5 separate regions of the Homo sapiens genome follow, and regions 2, 3, 4 and 5 are each linked to region 1. The links are contacts of gene promoters, found by promoter capture Hi-C in blood cells and fetal thymus (Javierre and others, 2016). All regions are on one chromosome and are shown on one strand. Each heading gives the region's core, a stretch centred on a gene start or on the middle of the fragment in contact. The rest is flanking DNA. Distances are from core to core; before and after follow the strand shown. Region 1 holds the start of WDR7 (WD repeat domain 7). Region 2 holds the start of CFAP53 (cilia and flagella associated protein 53). Region 3 has its middle 6.6 kb from the start of CXXC1. Region 4 holds the start of SKA1 (spindle and kinetochore associated complex subunit 1). Region 5 overlaps MEX3C (mex-3 RNA binding family member C).

The links. The method cuts DNA at HindIII sites, captures the fragments that hold promoters and counts their contacts. A CHiCAGO score of 5 or more calls a contact.
Region 2: a contact is called between the fragment with the promoter of CFAP53 here and the fragment with the promoter of WDR7 in region 1, in 3 of 17 cell types (non-activated CD4 T cells, total CD8 T cells and activated CD4 T cells). The highest score is 13.5, in non-activated CD4 T cells.
Region 3: a contact is called between a fragment that was not itself captured here and the fragment with the promoter of WDR7 in region 1, in 1 of 17 cell types (non-activated CD4 T cells). The highest score is 5.9, in non-activated CD4 T cells.
Region 4: a contact is called between the fragment with the promoter of SKA1 here and the fragment with the promoter of WDR7 in region 1, in 1 of 17 cell types (non-activated CD4 T cells). The highest score is 7.5, in non-activated CD4 T cells.
Region 5: a contact is called between a fragment that was not itself captured here and the fragment with the promoter of WDR7 in region 1, in 1 of 17 cell types (activated CD4 T cells). The highest score is 10.4, in activated CD4 T cells.

What each region holds. Positions count from the first base shown.
Region 1 is chr18:56,650,102-56,652,615 of GRCh38, reverse strand. WDR7 (WD repeat domain 7) reads right to left here and starts at 1,257. Exons shown (of 28, transcript NM_015285.3): 1 at 1,040-1,257. RefSeq lists an enhancer at 1,137-1,526. The HindIII fragment of the contact is 1,105 bases long and covers 1,025-2,129 here.
Region 2 is chr18:50,265,240-50,267,753 of GRCh38, reverse strand. It overlaps CFAP53 (cilia and flagella associated protein 53), which reads left to right and starts at 1,259. Exons shown (of 8, transcript NM_145020.5): 1 at 1,259-1,418. The coding sequence starts at 1,350. It also overlaps a transcript of MBD1 not described here. RefSeq lists enhancers at 1,294-1,363, 1,534-1,663, 1,010-1,855. The HindIII fragment of the contact is 1,610 bases long and covers 934-2,514 here.
Region 3 is chr18:50,293,058-50,295,571 of GRCh38, reverse strand. No RefSeq gene overlaps it. Among named protein-coding and RNA genes, the nearest start is that of CXXC1, 6.6 kb to the right of the region's middle. The HindIII fragment of the contact is 1,003 bases long and covers 752-1,754 here.
Region 4 is chr18:50,373,787-50,376,300 of GRCh38, reverse strand. It overlaps SKA1 (spindle and kinetochore associated complex subunit 1), which reads right to left and starts at 1,255. Exons shown (of 7, transcript NM_145060.4): 1 at 1,107-1,255; 2 at 383-481. The coding sequence starts at 470. It overlaps LOC105372114 (a long non-coding RNA gene), which reads left to right and starts at 1,423. Exons shown (of 3, transcript XR_935466.3): 1 at 1,423-1,706. RefSeq lists a silencer at 2,468-2,514. The HindIII fragment of the contact is 8,258 bases long and covers 1-2,514 here.
Region 5 is chr18:51,194,397-51,196,910 of GRCh38, reverse strand. It overlaps MEX3C (mex-3 RNA binding family member C), which reads left to right. Exons shown (of 2, transcript NM_016626.5): 1 at 1-344. Among named protein-coding and RNA genes, the nearest start is that of MEX3C, 2.0 kb to the left of the region's middle. RefSeq lists silencers at 147-196, 217-266, 1,918-2,212 and enhancers at 927-976, 605-1,226. The HindIII fragment of the contact is 1,098 bases long and covers 709-1,806 here.

The DNA of each region.
Region 1 (2,514 bases), core at 8-2,507:
TTGTTCTGGATGGAACTAGACAGTTTTTTATTCTTTGTAATAATGAGGGCATTTCAACACATTATGTTCACTTTTAAGCTGACCTTCATACAGCCACGAGTTTGTTTATAAAGCAAGAAGCAGAGTCAAACTAAAATTTTTGTTTTACAAAATGTCAAAAACTCAGTTAATTTCTTTCATACAACAGGCAATTCCTGCAACCTTGCCCATAAAATCCTAAGACATAAACACCTGAAAGAGTCAGTTTGCCTTTTTTTGTCTCATGGCAAATATTACAGTGAGAGGAAGCTATAGCTGCCACTGACCGAACCCTAAATTCAGCAGCATCAACAATATCAATGCAGCCTGTCATGCGACGGTAGGTTCCCTAGTTTCAGACTATCTAACCCAGCAAATTCTGCCTCAAAAAGTGACATACTAAGTGGGTAAAAAACATAAAACAGCAATTTTTGAATCAAAGTTAGGGTAGTGCTGACTTCAAACATAGCTTCAGAACGCTGGGACCCATCACTAAGTGAATGGGAGTGACTGGCATCCGCTCAGACAAGTACTAGGGCAAAGGGATAAGAACTGGCAGATGGCATCTCAAAAATGAAATTCTAACAGTGGTGTCAGTACCTTGGGCATGGGCAAAAATAGTACCAACAGGAAAGGAAAGACTATATGAACCCCAAAAGCAAGCACATCGCCCAAAATTGCTGTCAATAACCACCAACGATCATCACCAATCACCTGATCCCGTTTAGATTGCACCTGGGAACCAGGCAGTCCCACCTCAAGACCAAAGCAACTGTCACAAGTAGCAAATATCACTCACCAGGCAAGGGAGCCACAAAGACCCCCGGCTGGCCCCCACGCTCTTGGTAACGGCGCCTACTTTTGGGCCCGACCTGCAGGCTTGCAGCCGCAGCGATCTGACAGCTAGCACCGCCCCCGGCTAGAGCGGGTTTGTGACCTTTGACCCCTGACCCCTGACCTCCACGGTGCAGGAACATCCCGCCCTGTGGTTTCCCATGGAGAAGCTTGAAAGCCCCCTTACCTGTCACAGCTTCATCTCATGCCGCGATGTAGCCTATCAGACCGCCGGTGGGCGCCCCAGCCAAGGAGGACAAGGATAGGGCGGAACTACGGAGGATGCGGGGTGCGTAGATCCTGCTGGGATAATCCGTGGGGCGGCAAGCGCTATACAGCCGCCGTCTCCCCAGTGATACTGCAAGGTGCCGGTGCCGCCGCCGCCGCCACTGCAGTAAATCAGCTGACACCAGCCCCAACTGCCGTGACTTTCGCTGCAACTGTCGCAAAAATGAGGGGGCGGGAAAGACTCACCATTTCCCTACTTGCAAGGCCTAAGCCGGCGCCGAGAGAGCCAGCCGCGTTACGATGGAGACCGAAAGTGGAGAAAAGGCCAGCTGTGGGCAAGGAGTGCACGGCCGCCATCTTGGTTGTGGGAAGTCTCGTCTAGGCTGTCCTCTCTCCAGTTGGGAGGACCAAGATGGAGCGAAGGATGAAGTAGCAAGTGCACGTCTTTCTTGGGAGCAGGATGTTGCGCAAGTTTACACTTCTGACCCCATCACACTGCTTCCCACTGAGATGCAAGAGGTAGGGAATTCCCTAAACACTGGAAAGTATGTTGGATGCTGGAAAGCTAAAAAGAATGACAAATGTCCCCCAAGATAGATAAGCTATAGTATAGTGCAGGATGAGAAATGCCAAATAAGGAGCAAGGAAGAAAAGAGATGAATTATTTCTAGGTTGGGGTAAGGAAGGATAATCACATTAGGTCATATGGAAGTCTAGAAAAATTGGTCAGATTTGGAATAATAATTGGGAAAGGAAAACAACTTTGTCACCAGCATTGAAATGTAAAACATGAATATATGCAATAAATAGAAAGTTAAATTTGGAAGAAATACAAGGGACGTGAAGTAGGTGAAGTGGGAAAATGTGGTATCAGGGCTTAGCTGTTTCTGCTCCGTGAGCGGCTCCTTTAACAGGCAGTCTATGCCCTGGAGCTCTCTTGTGGGTTGATAGAGACTTCATCACATTCGGCCTAGACCAGGTAATAAAAAAGTAACATGGAAAAATAGAATAATGTAGATAACAAGAGGCTTTTAGTGGCCATATAAGCTTTTTGGTCTTTATTCCAAAGACAATGAAAAGTAATTGAAGACTTTTGACTAATAAATAGTGTAGCACTTTTCCTAACCACATGGTATTCAGGTTTTTAAAATTGCTTTACAACAAATTATCACAGTCTTAGTGTCTTAGTGGCTTAAAGCAACACATATGTATTGCCTCACATTCCATGGGCAAGGAGGTCAGGAACAGGTTAGCTGAGTCCTGTGCTCATGCTCTCACAAGGCTACAAGTGGATGTCAGCCAAACTGCAATTCTCATCTGGAGGCTCAACTAGGGAAGAATCTGATTCCAAACTCCTGTCAGCTCATTCAGTTCCTTGTGGCTGTCTGACTAGGGGCCCTGGCTTCTTACTGGCTCTGAACTGGAAGTGGCCAT
Region 2 (2,514 bases), core at 10-2,509, 6.4 Mb after region 1:
ACTGATTTGTTGCATGTGCTCACAAGTGTTCTATGCTCACCCCCACTTTAGAATGGGAGTATCACAGTGTCATTCTTAATTGGCTTTTAGGTATTACCACCTTGCTCTTGACTGGAAATGCAACTGTGGTTACCACCTGTGCTGCAGGTCCGTCCTGGTTCCCTGATTTGTGTTTCCTGTTCTGCCTGGATCCTGATTCTCAGAAACCAGTTACTGGACTTCTGATCCACATCCTGACCCTGGTCCACTGTGACCCTCAGACTCTTAATTATGCTCCACCAGGTCGTGCCACTGCCCCACTAGTCCATTTGATCTGCCCCCATCCTAGGATATCCTGAGTCTAAGCCCTGGTTTCTGCCAATGGCAAATAGGAAGATTTTATTAACAGGTTTTAAAAAATTATTATTATTACTGGTTATTTGGTTTGACAAGGCACTTAGGCTCCCTGAGCTTTGCCTTAGCTGGAAAATAAGGATAGTATTACTTGCTATTCTATCAACCCTGTAAGATATTTGCGGCCACGCGCGGTAGCGCACCCTGTAATTCCAACACTTTGGGAGGCCGGCGGGAGGGGCAGTGGGGAGGATCGCTTGAACCCAGGAGCAGGAGTTCCAGCCTGAGCAACATAGCGGGACCCCCTGTCTCTTCAAAATTTGTTTTTAAATTAGCAGGGCGTGGTGGCGCAGGCTTTGTAGTCCCAGATACTCTGGAGGCTGAGGCCCAGGAGGACGAGGCTGCAGGGAGCCATGATCACGCCACTGCACTCCACCCTGGGCGACAGAGCGAGACCTTGTCTCAGAAAAAATCTGTGAGGTTAAAAGGCTGTGTGTGTGAAAATATCTTGGAAATTGTAAAGAACTACACAAATATAAGGTTTTCCTGTGATTATTACCGTCATCAAGATTAACCTACAGATAGTGCAAAATTTAAGCTTCCCAAAAAATGTTCGCTAACCTTTTTCATACTTTTAGACCATTACAAGATATAAATAGCAAAGTCAACTGGAATTGTAATTAGAGCTTTGATTTTTCTTGGGCTAGAGGTTTTTTCTGCCATTCTGATGAACCCTGGAGGAAGGGAGCAAGGTCGGCGGGATTTGGCCGAGGGGCGGGGTGAGGACTGCGCAGGCTCAGCTTCTCAGCTGGAAGAGGAAGTCCCGAGTGCAGGCGTCTGCGGCCCCCATGGTGACCAGACCGACTTCCGCCCGACCCGCCCACCTCTACCGGCCCCTAATCCCGCGAGGCGCACCATGGCAACCAGACTTCTGCGTCGCGGAAGCGGGTCCCGCAGGTCGCCACGGTTGGGGGAAACGCGGCGGACGCCGCCCCCGTCCCGAAGGGGACTCGAAAATGTACAGCCAGCGGTTTGGCACCGTACAGCGGGAGGTTAAGGGCCCCACCCCCAAAGTGGTGATCGTGGTAAGCACAGGATATGTCTGCCAGACCCTACAGCTTTCTCCATCTCTCCGCACTCCAGGCCTGGCCTATCCCACTTCGGCCCCCACCCGGGGCCTTCTCGAGGGGAACGGGTGTCGCCTGATGCAGTGGGTTGAATTTTGAAAGAAGGAAGATAAGGTCGCTCACCTATCTACCCCACCTCTCACCCACTCATCTCCCTCTGTTTTCATCCTTACAGCCTTTCATCTGCCCCCAAAGTTATAATATTTAGGTTCTGTTTTTGGAGAATCACCACTAGGGATCTTAGGGTTTTTCAGTCTCCAAGACACCGGAAGGATGTCTGTCCCCCATGCAGTGGCGAGTGTGTGTTATGGAAAGGGCACCCGGCCCAGAGACAGATCTGGGGGCAGGGCGGGCCTATGATTTGGAGCTGGTCTTTCACTCCTAGGAAAATCGTCTGAGGAAGGGGAATTAGGTTGTGAGTGGTTATAGCACCCAACGCCTTTCCTGTGCCAACTCAACCAGTAACCATTGCTGGACAGAAGTGTCCCTTCAGACCTGGGAAAAACTCAGGTGCCTGCCTCTAAGGCTGGAGTGGTAGTAGGCCAGGAAAATGTGCTTGCTGCAGAATTTGATGGTTCCTGCTGAGAACCTCAGACACTATTGGTCCATACATGTAGATTTTTTTGTTTCTACAAATTAGTTTCTACCCACCAGAAAACTAACATGTAGGCAGAGTTATTGCTTGAGCCCCTGCTGTGTGCGCAGTATTGTGGGAGATACAGGGGTGGATACAATGATCCTGGAAGGTTAACTCTTTATTGAAGCCTGAGCCCTCCCTTCAAGGAGCTTATACAAGTCAAGTATCCCTTATCTGAAATGCTTGGGACCAGAGATGTCTAGGATTTCAGATTTTTTTTTTGGATTTTGGAATACTTGCATATACATAATGCAATATCTTGGGGAGGGGACCCAAGTCTAAACACAGAATTTATTTATATTTCATTACCTCGAAGGTAATTTTATTTTCCCCTTGGGGATGCTGAATAAATATGTGTTGTTTGCTTGTGTTTTGACTGTGACCCCTTACATGAGGTCAGGTGTGAAATTTTCCACT
Region 3 (2,514 bases), core at 4-2,503, 6.4 Mb after region 1:
GGGATTGGCCCAGGCAGGAGACAGTGCCTGAATAGGTGGTTAACCAGCCATGTGTTCCTGGGTTCCTGCTGCTCTAAGTGACTCTTGAGATTTTCCTGAGCCTGCTTGATTTGATTGTAATTGAATTGTGAGAACTTGCTGTGTAGAGTTGGTCCTGCAGGCTTGGAAATGGGAACAGCAGGTACCTTCAAGGACAGAAACAGTGAAGGAGGCCTGGGGAATGCTGCGTGCTGCAGATTATTGATGGGCCTTCCACAGTACTCCAGACGAAGGCAACTTAAACTGTTGGTCAAGCACCTCTATTCTGTTGTTCCTTCAAACCAACCCCGAGAAGCCACATTAAAAACCCCCTTTGCACATAGACAATTACAGAGATGGTAATGAAACCAATTCTGTGTTCACAGCACTGCAGGAAACACAACTGTGGATTCAATTCACCTTGTGTGGTTTACTCTTCAAGAGATGCTTAGTTCTTACCTTCAGGGAGTTTATAATTTCATTGAGGAAACAACTTGCTCATATATGAAACCATTGCAGATTAACAAAATTACAGGAGTGTTCTGGTGTCTGTAACGGCAACTTTTGGAAGAGAACACAGGGATAATCAAGAAAAAAAATTATCATGAACACAGACCAGTACCAAAGGGTTTTATAATGCTCCATTTTGTGTATGACAAACCTCAGATTTGCTCTGTCTTCTGTAGGACCAAGGACATCATGATCTGGGGCTAAAAAACACAAACTGGAAGCTTCTGCAGGCTATAAAATTCAAGGTGATATTTACAGATGAGCTTTGCGATGGATAGAAACTGACCTATTCAGGATAGAAATTGGTTCGTAGGAGTTGGGTAGGAATAAAAAGTAGAAGAATCTACCACCAAACCAGAGAAGCAAGCCTATTTAATTCTTTTTGGTTTTTTCAGAGGGCGTAAGTGGGAAAGGAAGAAGTCAGATTAGAAAACTGGTGCACTTGTTCCTCTCTAGGAACCTGAGTGTGATAAGAAATGTGGGCCAGGTGCGGTGGCTCACACCTGTAATGCCAGCACTTTGGGAGGCTAAGGTGGACAGATCACCTGAGGTCAGGAGTTCGAGACTAGCCTGGCCAACATGGTGAAACCCCATCTCCACTAAAAATATACAAATTAGCTGGGTGTGGTGGTGGGCACCTCTAATCCCAGCTACTCAGGAGGCTGAGGCAGGAGAATCACTTGAACCTGGGAGGCGGAGGTTGTAGTGAGCTGAGATTGCATCACTGCACTCCAGCCTGGGTGACAAAAGTGAGACTCTATCTAGAAAAAAAAAAAGAAATGTGGCTGTTAGGGACGGGGAAGCTGTAGTAGGGAGGGAGCAGATTAGAATTAAAGCTACTAAACAAGTCCTCCTCATCAATGATATTAAATGACTGGTTCATGACATTTGGCAGTCTTTAAACATTTCAGAGACATCAGCTTGAAAGTATAATATATGAGGAAAAAGGATATTTGTGTCAGGTGTCCTAAGACCATCCTCAGGTTCAATGACTCACTAGAAGAACACACAGAATACAAAAACACTGCTAAGCTCCCAATTAGTTTGTTACAGCAAAAGAATACAGATTGAATGAGCAAAAAGGCTCATAGGCTATAGTACAGGAAAGACCATGCTTCCAGTTCTCCTCTCCTAGAGGAGTCATATAAACAGCACTTAATTATCCCAGAAACAGTGTTGTGATAACATGAATGAAGTATTGCAAACCAGGGAAGCTCATCCAAGCTTTGGTGTCCAGGGTTTTTATTAGGGGATTGGTTACATGAGTATGGAGGGTGCCATTGCTGACCTTGGTTACTCAGTCTCCGGCCTCTCCAGAGTTCATATTGATACCCTGTGGCCCAAGGTCCCCACCACAAATCACATTGCTATCATAAACTATCTGGTGTGGACCAAGATCCTAGGTAAATATAAACATTCTTTTTTTCTTTTTGAGACAGAGTCTTGCTCTGTCATCCAGGCTGGAGTGCAATGGCGTGATCTGGGCTCACTGCAGCCTCCACCTCCTGAGTTCAAGCAATTCTCCTGCCTCAACCTCCTGAGTAAGTGGGATTACAGGCACCCGCCACCACACCTGGCTAATTTTTGTATTTTTAGTAGAGACAGGGTTTACCCATCTTGGCCAGGCTGGTCTTGAACTCCTGACCTCAGGTGATCCACCCACCTTGGCCTACCAAAGTGCTGGGATTACAGATGTGAGCCACTGTGCCCAGCTGAACATTCTTATTAGGCAAGTAATTCTGAGCACTTTAAGGTTATCTCCCAAGAGCCAGTCAAATATCAGATTTTTTTTTCATGTGAAGGTTTGAACAACCAAGGCCTGCTGAGTTAATCTTTTACCGCATGGCACTATTTGGAGAGTTCCCATTCTGGACCTAATTCATATTATTCTCTCAGATGTCTTTCTAGGAGGATGTTAATTTTGCCCATTTTTATAGATGAGAAAAAGTTCTCAGAAAGATTAACTACACTCTGCAATGTAAAGCA
Region 4 (2,514 bases), core at 6-2,505, 6.3 Mb after region 1:
ATGTGATGTTTGCACAACGACAAAATCATGTAACGCTTTTGTCAGAACACATCTCCATCATTAAGGAACGCATGACTGTATCTCTATTTAGCTGTAGAACCATGGATGCCACATAACCTTCAAATCTCACCATTGGCCTATGTGTCTCAGAAAAACATAAGTAAATAATTCTAATGAATATTCAGTTCATTGTTCAATGTACCTTACATTTTTAGTATCCTCCACAATATTCAAAATGACATTGGACTATTTAAAAAATCGTTATGCAAAAATCTAAAATTACCTAAGATGCAGTCACTTAACCAAGCAAAGATATCATTCAGAGTGGAATAATCAAAATGCATTTTGTATATACAAAGTCAGTGGAATCTGTTTTACTTACCACAGTTTCTTAATGATAAGGTTTTCTTAATATTGCCAATCTTTTCATTAACATGAGAGCATAATTGTTCCAGATCTGACGAGGCCATCCTTTAAGCCTCTGAAGAAAAAAACATAAACATATTCGTAACAAGAAAAGCCACACAAATTTCTGTTCACTTTCGAAATCCAAGAATGGTCAATGTCAAGTAAATCACATGTCTTTGAAGGTTAAGCACAAAAATTCAAGAGCAATTTCTTTCATTTCTACAACATTCAGTTTCTAACCACGGTACCGTACTGACTTGTCTTAGAGCCTTAGGCCATCGATGGATCCCAAACCAGGGGAAAGAGGATAAGCCTGGGTCCTTTCCTTAAGGATTCAGGAGGACAAACGCACTATTTGTATATAAAGACAACATTGGTATTTTCTTTAAACACGCAAAATAAGGACACATTTTTTAAAAATGTGTTACACTGTCAAAGAAATGGGCCCAGGTAATCATTTTTCCTGTGCTGTGAGGGGTTGGGGCTTTACAGTTTGGGATCGGTAAGGAGGCCGAGAAATGGGAAAGAACCAGTTTCCCACCCACTCCGCCGGTGAGAGAGAAGGGGAGGGTCTAAAGCATCCAACCCAGCCTCCAGCCCCGTCCTCCCCCAAGCCCGGCGCGGTCCGCGGCCCCCAGCTGCCAAGCAGCTACCTCGGGCGCTTCCAAAGGCAGGGTCCCCAACACACAGACTCCAACCTCAAGTCCGTCCGGGAGCAAAAGGCTACTCGCCGCTGGGTCTCCAGCTGCGGATACCGCAGTCTCCGTTGGAAGCCCAGGATGGTGAGACGGGACTCTGTAAGCAAAATTCAAACCGCCCGCCGCGCCCTAGCGCAGCGCAGGCGCACATCCATGCTTCCGAAGCGCAGGCTCAGCCGCTGTTCCCGGTTTGCGTCATCCGGGGCCACAGCTGGGCGGGAAGGAGGGGTGGCCGAGCCGGGGAAAGGCGGGGCGACGGCGAAGGCGGGGCTTCCGGACGAAAGGGTAACCCGGAGGTGCTCTTTCCGCGCTAACCAGTCTGGGGAGATTTCAGCAGGTCATGCAGTCTTGACCGCAGCCCAGCCAGGGACCTGGCGTCACCAAGTCCTGGTCTTTGACATTTGCTGCACCTTAGAGTCACCAGGGGCAGCTATTACAAGTCTCAGTGCCTAGAGTACACCCCAAGTCGGTGAAATCAGACACTGGGGAAATGAGGCACAAGCCTTAGTATTTATAAAAACACCCCAGAAAATTCCAAAGAGCAGCTAAGTTTGTGTGGAAGAAACAGTGACCCTGTCTTCTGGGTCTTAGACAGCCTCTGTAAGTGTTCCCGGGCCAAACCAGGGGTTGGGCTGCTTATTCTCATGATGAACTGGGAAAGAAGAGTTTATTTCGGTAACCGGGTACAGGGAAAAGGCCTGGAAAATATCGCCAAATCGATTCAAAATTACAAAGTTTTCCAGAGCTTATATACCTTCTAAACTATCTGTCTACATGTAAGTGTGCATGTGTGTAAAGACGTAAATGATTAACTGTTTCTAATCTATAACTAAGATCAGTCCTAAGGAAGGTCTTTATTTAAGTAAATTTACTTAATCTAGATGGCTGCAGGTGCCAGAGGTGATTACCCTTATCTTGTCTCCTGCTAAATCATGAAGGTTTGGGCAGTTCCTTCAGACCCCCGATAAACTTGTTTGTGGAGGTCTGGGGGAGTTTCTTCAGACCCCCAATAAAAACTTGTTTAATCTTGAACAGGTCCTGTTAAGAATTCCTTCTTTATTTTCTCATGCTTCAAGGACCAGGAAAGGCCTGGGCAAAACTCTTGGTGGGCTTTTGTTACATACCAGCCTTTCTATAAAGACACTGGCTCTTTCAGCTTTTAATATTTAACTTAACTAGTGCTGAAACAGTGGTTACGGAGGCCTGTCTGTTCAGCTGTTAGTGAGACCTGGCCTGCCACTTAAGAGCAAATATAAATTTAAAATAAGAAAAACAAAAGTTTAATTCTCCCTGTTGAAAAGGAGGGAAAAGCACCCAAGGCTGGAGTGGTGGCACCGCCAGGTTCTGTCCATCCCTTGGCTCCACTGCGCTATTATTATGCACTTGGACCTTCAGGCTGCCAGCCCCT
Region 5 (2,514 bases), core at 8-2,507, 5.5 Mb after region 1:
CCGGTCGTCGCTGCTGCTGCTGTCGCCGCCCGCGGCCACCGCCTCTCAGACCCAGCAGATCCCGGGCGGGTCCCTGGGGTCTGTGCTGCTGCCAGCCGCCAGGTTCGATGCCCGGGAGGCGGCGGCCGCGGCGGCGGCGGCGGGGGTGCTGTACGGAGGGGACGATGCCCAGGGCATGATGGCGGCGATGCTGTCCCACGCCTACGGCCCCGGCGGTTGTGGGGCGGCGGCGGCCGCCCTGAACGGGGAGCAGGCGGCCCTGCTCCGGAGAAAGAGCGTCAACACCACCGAGTGCGTCCCGGTGCCCAGCTCCGAGCACGTCGCCGAGATCGTCGGCCGCCAGGGTGAGTGCAGGGGTGGGGAGGTCCAGCTGGGCATGGCCCCGGGCGTGGGTGGGGAGACGAGAGAAAGGAGCGTGGGACGGAAAAGGCGAACCCGGCGAGGCCCCCAAGTCCACCGCGAAGGGGTCTGGGAGGAGCCGAGGGTCGACCAGATGTGAAGATGGGTCACCTTGCGAAAACCCACGCTTTTCCGCCCGTCTTGCCTGGTAAAAAGTGTGAAGTTTCTCGGGCGACCCAGTCCGGTGGTGTTCACGTTACTTGGGCTGTATTCGTGGAACACCAGGCTGGCGTGGCACCAGAAACCTCAGTGAGGTGGTAAAAGGTCGGGCTCGAGGAGTTGTGGGTTCGCTGTTGGGTACGGAAAGCTTCGAGATTGCAAGTTTGCGCCGCCGAGTGTCTTCTAAAAGCGTTCAGCCTCCCTTACAAGAACTTGTTCAGATGGAGAAAAGAACAGAAATGGAGGCCTGTAGACAGAGCTCACTGGGGAGGGAAGGGGTGTTCAAATGGTCGGTATCACCGCCATCCCCTGCCCCTCCGCTGTTGAGAAACTTAGCTTTGGAAAAGCAGCCCAACTCACTGCCGCCTATCTTAACTGTATTTCTCTCGGTACGTTTCAACTCTCGGAAAGACACACTGACACACTGGCTGTCTTTTAAAACTGTTCAGTGTGCAGGATGAAGAAAAAATGGACACTAAGGTAATTAAGAAACTTCATCGGTTTATACAGTTTTCAGTTAATTCTCCTCTTCACTTGCCAGCACACCAGTACTGCAGACAGACTCCTCCCACATTGTTCAGACAAAGGACCTGTGTCTCAGATTCCAGGAGTAGATTTGTGAAGGTGGGGGAAGGGGATGCCTGGGGTACCTCTGTATCCGACATTTTTAGGGAAGGTCCTAAGTTCTTTATGGTAGCATTTCCCCTTTATGAAAGGGGCAGATGTTACCTGCTGCCACCGCATGACAATGTGGTTTAGCCTGGTTGTTGCATGCCTCTTTACTGTTAGGTTGAGAGCATTGTTGGGGTCAAATAAAGAGAGATGATGGCGCTGCCGCTTAAATGATCTCATCTTTCCCAGGTGGTCTAAAGTACACATAAATAAGAGCTCTGTCGAAATGGTGGTTTCACATATCAGACTTGGCTTATTTCTTTCCTATCTGTAGGATTTTAATAAAAACTCATCTGAAATCTGGATAAAGGAGATAGCTTAGTTCAGACTGCCTGATGATTGGCACTTACAGACACTGTTCAAAGCTGGACCTTTCAATTGAAAGGTAGCTTATGCTTGTCGTTCTTCTGGTTAATGAGTTTCAGATTCCTGGATTGTTTGGTTTTGGCGATACTTAGAGTAATAATCCAGGAGAAAACTTTTGTTTACATGGGATAAAATTACAACATCTCAATTTGGATCAGAATGAGTTGACCATTCATGTAAGAACACTGAGGAATCGCTATGTACCAAGCTTGTATTTTGCCAGGTTTTGAGTTTGTGGTATTGAGAATGTGAAGTTAATTCAGACTTTCTGCCCTTAAGAAGATAACAGTCTAATAAACAGTAGAATGGCACTAACTATAGTGTATTTAGTATGACAAAGTCTCAGGTAAGAGAACATCTATGGAGAGGGCCTTGGAAAATGGGTAGGAAGGAGTCTAACAAATGGAGATTGAAAAACTGTGGAGGAACAATGTGAGGAGGGGTGTGGAGGACTAGCCTAGGTATAATTGCCAAGTAGTGTTGTTTTGATACTTGAGGTCTGTAAAGGGGAGTGGTGGAAAAGGGGGAAGGCAGGCGTTCACACCAGAATGTGAAGAAGCCTGAATGCCATATGAAGATGCCACTTCTCAGGACAAGTTGCTTCCGTGTGCTTATGGTAACAGTCTAGGGTAACAAAGGAAGAAAACATTTACGTGCCAGTTTTACTGAAGGACAAGATAACATATTTTATAGATTTAGTTTAATACAAACTTTAGTCCTTCATTATAGTAGACACCCCTTAAAGCACTGCTAAATGGCCCTTACTTGTGTATGTTGTTAATCTTTATAGAAATCAGTTTTTTAAAAGTAAAGTGAATTCCAAGTTTTTATTTTGTACCAGCTATTACGTGATAGGAAATGAGATAAAGCCTTAGTTTTTCTTTTGAGGGCTGTGTTTATTTGGTTAATAAGGAAATG